Regions from separate parts of the Homo sapiens genome. Here region 1 is linked to region 2. Evidence: promoter capture Hi-C in human tissues and cell types (Jung and others, 2019). All regions are on one chromosome and are shown on one strand. Each heading gives the region's core, a stretch centred on a gene start or on the middle of the fragment in contact. The rest is flanking DNA. Distances are from core to core; before and after follow the strand shown. Region 1 overlaps LOC107984505 (a long non-coding RNA gene). Region 2 holds the start of FAM186A (family with sequence similarity 186 member A).

The links. Contacts are between HindIII fragments. The study calls those that stand out against the background at their distance.
Region 1: a contact is called between a fragment that was not itself captured here and the fragment with the promoter of FAM186A in region 2, in 3 of the 25 tissues and cell types used here (H1 embryonic stem cells, mesenchymal stem cells and small bowel).

What each region holds. Positions count from the first base shown.
Region 1 is chr12:50,285,400-50,289,733 of GRCh38, forward strand. The region is part of intron 1 of LOC107984505 (a long non-coding RNA gene); the gene reads left to right. It also overlaps the pseudogene LOC100418734. Among named protein-coding and RNA genes, the nearest start is that of LIMA1, 4.0 kb to the left of the region's middle. The HindIII fragment of the contact is 5,152 bases long and covers 1-4,334 here.
Region 2 is chr12:50,394,468-50,398,853 of GRCh38, forward strand. FAM186A (family with sequence similarity 186 member A) reads right to left here and starts at 2,142. Exons shown (of 8, transcript NM_001145475.3): 1 at 1,826-2,142. The coding sequence starts at 2,017. The HindIII fragment of the contact is 8,551 bases long and covers 1-4,386 here.

The DNA.
Region 1 (4,334 bases), core at 1,274-3,773, 110 kb before region 2:
ACATTTGTAATCCCAGTGCTTTGGGAGGCTAAGGCGGGAAGATGGCTTGAGGCTAGAAGTTTGATGTTGCAGTGAGCTATGATCACACCACTGCACTCCAGCCTGGGCAACAGAGTGAGACCCTATTTCTAAAAAAAAATTTTTAAATATAATAAATATTAAAAACTCATCACTTTGTAGTTTTTTTCTTCATTTTACTAATAATTCTGCTCTTGAGGTTATTTGTCCATTGTATTCCCTGTGGAAATACTACATATGTTGTATGCATCTCTTCCCAACTCTATTCAGAAATGTCACATTGGTAGCACGAAATTGGCTGTAAGGGGAGTATTTACACCATGGAAATGGGCAAATGCAGCAAGTCAGGGCGTGATTTATTGTTTTGTTGATTTTTCTAGACCATATGTTAGCAAACCTTTTGTGTAAACAGCCAAATAGTAAATATTTTAGGCTTTGTGGGACTTATAGTCTCTGTCACAGCTACTCAGCTCTCACTGTAGTGCCAAATGTGCCAAAGTAGCCATAGACAATACTTAAAGAATGGGCATGGGCCAGGTGCAGTGGCTCACACCTGTAATCCCAGCACTTTGGGAGGCCCAGGCAGGGATCACTTGAGGCCAGGAGTTAGAGACTAGCCTGGCCAACATGGCAAAACCCTGTCTTTACAAACAAATAAAATAAACAGACAAAAAAGCTGGGTGTGGTGGTGTGTGCCTGTAATCCCAGTTACCTGGGAGTGTGAAGTGGGAGGATGCCTTGAGCCCAGGAGTTGGAGATTGTAATGAGCCGAGATCACACCACTGCACTCCAGCCTGGGCGACAGAACAAGACCCTGTCTCAAACAAAAAACTCATAGGCCTTTATCTGATAGTGAAGGGAACAATAGAGTTGAAAGGGAAAAATGGAGTAGATACAGGCAAATGTTTACATACATGATACGGTGCAACAAGAATAGCAGAACATACTGCAAAAGAAATTATGTCAACATATTTAAGAATCTTGGAAGAGAATGGCAAATATGCACTATAATTGATGAGACATCTACATATTGGAAGAAAATTACCTAGAGATTTATCTCCAGTACACAGTTGAATAAGCTTCTGTACTGGTAAAGATATTTGTTGCTTTAAAAGAATTGGTGTCAGCTGGGCACGGTGGCTCACGCCTATAATCCCAGCACTTTGGGAGGCTGAGGTGGGCAGATCACAAGTGGGCGGATCACGAGGTCAGAAGTTCGAGACCAGCCTGGACAACATGGTGAAATCCCATCTCTACTAAAAATACAAAAATTAGCCAGGTGTAGTAGTGTGCGCCTGTAGTCCCAGCTACTCAGGAGGCTGAGGCAGGAGAATCGCTTGAACTCCAGAGACACAGGTTGCAGTGAGCAGAGATCACACCATTGCACTCCAGCCTGGGCAACAGAGCGAGACTCCATCTCCAAAAAAAAAAAAAAAAGTAATTGGTGTCTGCCACACAGATTATATTTCTACTACATTATTGTCTATTTTACTTTTTTTCTTTTGAGGCAGAGTTGTGCTCTGTCCCTCAGGCTGGAGTGCACTGGCACGATCTTGGCTCACTGCAACCTCTGCCCCCTGGGTTCAAGTGATTCTCCTGTCTCAACCAAGTAGCTGGGATTACAGGCGTGCACCACCAAGCCCAGCTAATTTTTGTATTTTTAGTAGAGACAGGGTTTCACCATGTTGGCCAGGCCGGTCTCAAACTCTTGACCTCTAGTGATCGACCAGCCTTGGCCTCCCAAAGTGCTGGGATTACAGGCGTGAACCGCCGCGCCCAGCCGATATTGTCTACTTTAAATGTGGCTTCAGTAATGAATATTTGAAATTTAATAATGAATAGTTGAAAGTAAGCTGCATTTTGTTTTAATGGTGCTTTCACAATAATGGGAAAGAAGACTGGAGTGGCCACAGATTTGTCAGAAAAATTTCCTAATGTCATCATTTGGTTCTGTTACCAATTATAATTCAGTATCTGAAATAAAACAAGTCAATCATTTAAAAATATTCTGGATAGTCTGGGCACGGTGGCTCATGCCTGTAATTCCAGCACTTTAGAAGGCCGAGGCAGGCGGATAACTTGAGGTCAGGAATTCAGAACTGGCTTGGCTAACATGGTGAAAGCCTGTCTCTACTAAAAATACAAAAATTCACTGGGCGTGGTGGTGCACGCCAGTAGTCACAGCTACTCGGGAGGCTGAGGCAGGAGAATCACTTGAACCCAGGAGGCGGAAGTTGCAGTGGACTGAGATTGTGCCACTGCACCCCAGCCTGAGACAGAGTGAGACTCCGTCTCAAGAAAAAATAACAATATTATGGATAAAATTTATTCTGTTTACCACCAACCCAAAAAAAGGAAACAGTTGGAAATTATAGCTAAATAACTTGAAACTGAAATTATTAAAATTAGCCAAGTACTTAGGTTGAGATGGGTGGACATGTACTTTACCAACCGCTAATGCTGCATGGCACACATATCCTACATTATAAATGCATTTTTCTCATTCTTTTTATTCTGGCCTAGCAACAAGATCAGCTAATATTAATTTCTTGTAATACCTTACTTTAATGATTGATATTCTTAAATAATTTTCATTACTTTCAGTTGCACTGCAGTTAAGATCAACCAACATTCAGAAAATTAAAAAATTAATAGAATGCACTATAAAAGCTTTGGAAAAATTAAAAATTGGCATTAGAAAGCATGACTCTCAAGTTGAATATTTGGTTAAGTCATCAGTTTGAAGTCATTCCATTTAATAATTTTTTTTTTGAGGCAGGGTCTCACTCTGTTGCCCAGGTTGGAGTGCTGTGGCACAATCATAGCTCATTACAACCTCACACTCCTGAACTCAAGTGATTCTCGTGCCTCTGCCTCTCAAGTAGCTGGGACGACAGGCACATGCCACTACACCTGGCTAATTTTTAAAAACTTTTGGTAGAGATGGGGTGTCACATGTTGCCTAGGCTGGTCTTGAACTCTTGGCCTCAAGCAATCTTCTCATCTTGGACTCCCAAAGCACTGGGCTTACAGGCATGAACTGCCACACCTAGTCAAAAATAGATTTAAACCTCTGCCTAAGAATGTGTTACTAAAAAGTAATGAATACATGTCTTTTATTAGAAACATCATTTTAAGTTGTTTTTATTTGTTAAAATCACCTTCTTGGACTTCTTCACTGTGGAAAATAATATCATTTAAGTGAAATTTTAAAACATGTATTTTGAATTATTTTTTCTTTTTTTTTGATATGGAGTCTCGCTCTGTCACCCAGGCTAGAGTGCAGTGGCGTGATCTCAGCTCACAGCAACCTCCACCTCCCAGGTTCAAACGATTCTCCTGCCTCAGCCTCCCAAGTAGCTGGGATTACAGGCGCCTGCCACCACGCCCAGCAATTTTTTGTATTTTTAGTAGAGACAGGGTTTCATCATGTTGGTCAGGTTGGTCTCGAACTCCTGACCGCAAGTGATGCGCCCACCTCGGCCTCCCAAAGTGCTGGGATTACAGGTGTGAGCCACCATGCCTGGCCTTGAGTTATTTTCAAGATTTTGCAAGTAATAATTTAGAATCAAACAAAATTACAATCCCTGCAATTATACAAAAAGCTAAAAAGATAGCATTATTGCAATCAATAGTGCTAAAACTGAAAGAAGTTTCATTTTAATAAGTTTGTATGAGGTTGAAAAATGGTAATGGATGAGGAATGGTAGTTTAATAGTAAATCAAATGTCACACTTAAGGACAAGAAATATGTTGGGAAAAGATTAGCAGATTGAAAACATCGAATGATGGTTGAATTGCCATCATAAATTGGCTGAGGTAGAAGAGTTTGGAAAAATTATTGAAAGCTTGTGGAATCAACTGGCTGTGTGGAATTCACAAAAAGAGTATTTTATATTTATTATTTGTAAGCTGTAAGCTACACATGCTTTATATTAGTAACATTTTTATAGATTTATATAGATAGATATAGATATGCACACATTATCTCCCCAGGGAGCTGGTTGTTTATTAGCACATTAATGAGTAGTATGTATTTTTAGGGGTAATGTGAAGCTCAAACAAGAAAATGTATGTAAAATATTTGGTATTGCTTACTACAAACTTGATAATAAATGTTAACTCTGTTCCCACTTTCCACCCTACCTGCTTTGTTCTTTCCTGAACAAGTTACTTAACTTTTCAACCATAGTTTCCTAATGGGAATTACAGGTTCATTCCTAATTGACTTTTGGGGATTCAATAAAATGGCATGTCTTACTTAGCTGACAAACTAGGAGCTTAGATTTCTGTTCCTCCTTCTTCTTTTAGTATAT
Region 2 (4,386 bases), core at 892-3,391:
CACTTGAACCCAGGAGATGGAGGTTGCAGTGAGCCAAGATCGCGCCACTGCACTCAGCCTGAACAATAGCATGATAGTCTGCCTCAAAAAAAAAAATCTATTTATCTATCTATCTATCTACCTATCTACCTATAGAGAGAGAGAGACAGAGGTCTTACTATGTTGCCCAGACTGGTCTTGAACTCCAGGACTCAAGCGATCCTCCTGTCTTGGCCTCCAAAGTGCTGGGATTACAGGAGTGAGCCACTGTGCCTGGCTAACACTCTTTTTTTTTTTTTTTTTTTTTTTTTTTTAGAGATAGAGTCCCTCTGTCACCAGACTGGAATGTAGTGGCACAATCTATAGCTCACTGTAACCTCAAATTCCTGGTCTCAAGGGACCTTCCCGAGTAGCTGGGACTGCAAGTGCATACCACCACTTCCTGGCTAATTTTTAAATTTTTTCTAGAGACAGGGTCTTGCTTTGTTGCCTGGGATGGTCTCAAACTCCTGGGCTCAAGTGAGCCTCTCACCTTGACCTCCTAAAGTGCTGGGATTACAGGCATGAGCCACTGTGACCAGTTTAGCTTTCCTTAAACATAGGAAAGAACCCCCCCTTAATCAATTTCATCAAACATGACTGATTTTTGTTTGTTTGTTTGTTTTTGAGACAGGGTCTCGCTATGTCACCCATGCTGAGTGGGGTGCAGTAGTGCAAGCATGGTGCTCACTGCAGTCTCCTGGGTTCAGGGGATCCTCTGGCCTCCCAAGGAGCTGGGACTACAGGTTTGAGCTAACATGCCTGGCTAATTTTTTTATTTTTAGTAGACAGGAGGTCTCCTTATGTTGGCCAAGCTGGTCTAGAACTCCTGGGCTCAAGAGATCCTCCTGCCTTGGCCTCCCAAAGCATTGGGATTACAGGCATGAATCGCTGTGCCTGGCCTGATTTTGTTGTACTGCGAGAGAATAAAATGCAGTATAACCTTAATTGTTTGGGGGTCTATTAGATTCTTATGTATTTATTTATTTATTTATTTTTCTAAAAATATAGATGGGGTCTCACTATGTTGACCAGGCTGGTCTCTAACTCCTGGCCTCAAGGGATCCTCCCATCTCAGCTTCCCAAAGTGTTGGGATTACAGGCATAAGCCACCGCACCCGGCTGACATTATGTAAACACTCTTTCTATTCTCCTTGAATTTCTCCTAATTTCTCCTTGAAGTGTACAGGGAAAATAAAAGGAGCTAGAATTCAAAGCCATCTAAATTCTATCTGGCTAATAGCTGTTTGATAAAACCTCCATAGGGAACAAATGAAAACTTTTTTTTTTTTTGAGATAGAGTTTCGCTTTTGTTGCCCAGGCTGGAGTGCAATGGTGCAATCTTGGCTCACCACAACCTCCACCTCCCTGGTTCAAGCAATTCTCCTACCTCAGCCTCCTGAGTAGCTGGGATTACAGGCAAGTGCAATCATGCCCAGCTAACTTTTTGTATTTTTAGTAGAAACGGTGGTTTCTCCATGTTGGTCAGGCTGGTCTTGAACTCCCGACCTCAGTGATCCGCCCGCCTCGGCCTCCCAAAGTGCTGGGATTACAGGCGTGAGCCACCATGCCCGGCTTGATTTATTTCTTAAATGGCTTTATTAAACCTGATATAAAGAGATTAATGTCAAATTGGAGCTTGTTATATCCACAGTCGGTGTCAGGTGAAATTGTCATTTGAAGTCAAAGCTACCCTAAATACAGTCAAATATCATGAAAGTGATTTCTAAAATAAACAAAAATGTACTTGGTCACAGAAAGTTTAAAAAGAAAATTGCAGTCTGTAAACTTCAGATTCACTACCTACCTCTCTGGCTCGATGGAGCTGTGCGCGCTCAATCCTAGAGATGATATCCTTTACTGAGAATGGGATCTCAAGGTTAGGGAGCATCAAAGGACTAAGGATATTTTGGGGCTCTCTTCTCATGATGGTGGAATCCTTGATGCATTTTTCTGATTCAGGGTCATTGTCTATCTCATTTTTCATTTTGAAGAACATTTTGAAAATGTGGGTGATTTCGTTTTATTTCTTCTTTTTCACAGAATCTACAAAAATGCTAATAAAGATATCCAGTAGGAAGCTAGGAGAGGTCTTTCCTGATCCTAGAAGTTGTGGCATACTCTGCTACTAATTGGTGGCTCCCATGATATTCCCGTCCTGTTGATGTCACAATAGACCCATTGTGACATTATCATTGATCAAACATGTAAAGAATGCTTACTATGTGCAGAGAACTGGTCATTCTATATGCTGCCATGGTAGAAGGGTGAGGGGGGAAGGAGGGTAGGAAATAATAGACAACAGGAATGCTAAAATAAACAGAAGATATAGCCCTGCTTAAATAAGCTTAAAATCTAGATGTGTTGGCCGGGTGCAGTGGCTCATGCCTGTAATCCCAGCACTTTGGGAGGCCGAGGCAGGTGGATCACCAGAGGTCGGAGTTCGAGACCAGCCTGACCAACATGGAGAAACCCCGTCTCTACTAAAAAAAAAAAAATACAAAATTAGCCATGTGAGGTGGCACATGCGTGTAGTCCCAGCTACTTGGGAGGCTGAGGCAGGAGAATCACTTGAACCCGGGAGGCGGAGGTTGTGGTGAGCCGAGATCACGTCATTGCACTCCAGCCTGGGCAACAAGAGTGAAACTGTCTCAAAAAAAAAAAAAAAAAAATCTAGGTGTGTCAAATATAACTCCTGGTTCTTCTCTCTTCCTGGGGTTTTGCTTAAGTATTTTTAAGCCTGTAATGGAATAAAGGTTACAACTACTTCCTCAGCTGCCCCTTAACTTTTCCTAGACATGTAGTAACTTGGATGATATCATTTGGATGAAGTAACTTGGATGATATCATTTGGATGAGGATCACACTCTTTGCACTGCTTACTCTTTTTTCTTTTCTTTTCTTTTCTTTCCCTTTTTTTTGGAGACAGAGTCTCACTTTGTTACCCAGGCTGGAGTGCAGTGGTGTGATCTTGGTTCATGGCAACCTCTGCCTCCCAGGTTCAAGAGATTCTTGTGCCTCAGCCTCCCTGAGTAGCTGGAATTACAGGTGCGCGCCACCACGCCTGGCTAATTTTTGTTTAATATTTGCTTCCAATTTTTTTAATAATAAAAAAGCATTACAGAAGGTTGAAGTCCTCTTTGATGTCCCCCACCCCTGGTTCCTTCCTTCCCCACTGTCCCATTCCAGAGGAAATGACAATCATGAATTTTACATATTTGTGTTATCTATTTTTACATAGTTTTACTACAGGTGTATGTATTGTTTTTTCTTTCTTTCTTTCTTTCTCCTTCCTTCCTTCCTTCCTTCCTTCCTTCCTTCCTTCCTTCCTTCCTTCCTTTCTTTCTTTCTTTTTTTTTTTTTGAGGCAGAGTCTCACTCTGTTGTCCAGGCTGGAGTGTAGTAGTGCCATCTCAGCAGACTGTAACCTCTGCCTCCCAGGTTCAAACGATTCTTCTACCTCAGCCTCCCGAGTAGCTGGGATTACAGGCATGCGCCACCACACCTGGCTAATTTTTTTTTTTTTTTTTTTTGAGACGGAATCTCGCCTGTGGCCCAGGCTGGAGTGCAGTGGCATGATCTCGGCTCACTGCAAGCTCCGCCTCCCAGGTTTGCTCCATTCTCCTGCCTCAGCCTCCCGAGTAGCTGGGACTACAGGCGCCCGCCACCACACCCGGCTAGTTTTTTGTATTTTTTAGTAGAGACGGGGTTTCACCATGTTAGCCAGGATGGTCTCGATCTCCTGACCTCGTGATCTGCATGCCTTGGCCTCCCAAAGTGCTGAGATTACAGGTGTGAGCCACTGCACTCGGCCTACACCTGGCTAATTTTTTATATTTTTGGTAGATATAGGGTTTCACTGTGTTGGCCAGGCTGGTCTCAAACTCCTCAAGTGATTCACTCACCTCGGCCTCCCAAAGTTTAGTTGTCAACTAAACTAAATTTGCATTATTCTTTCTCTCTCACTTGCATCTTTTATGCAGCATGGAATTCATCAATCAGCAACTAGACATGAAGGCTTTTCTTTGAGACAAAATCTCACTCTGTCACCCAGGCTGGAGTGCAGAGGCACGATCTAGGCTCACTGCAAGCTCCGCCTCCCAGGTTCACGCCATTCTCCTGCCTCAGCCTCCCAAGTAGCTGGGACTACAGGCGCCCACCACCACGCCCGGCTAATTTTTTGTATTTTTAGTAGAGAAAGAGTTTCACCGTGTTTGCCAGGACAGTCTCGATCTCCTGACCTCGTGGCCTCCCAAAGTGCTGGGATTACAGCCATGAGCCACCACGCCTGGCCATGAAGGCTTCTTAAAGTCAATTTTTAAATCCTGCTTCCCTTTCAATTCGACAAGCATTTGTTGAAACACTATGC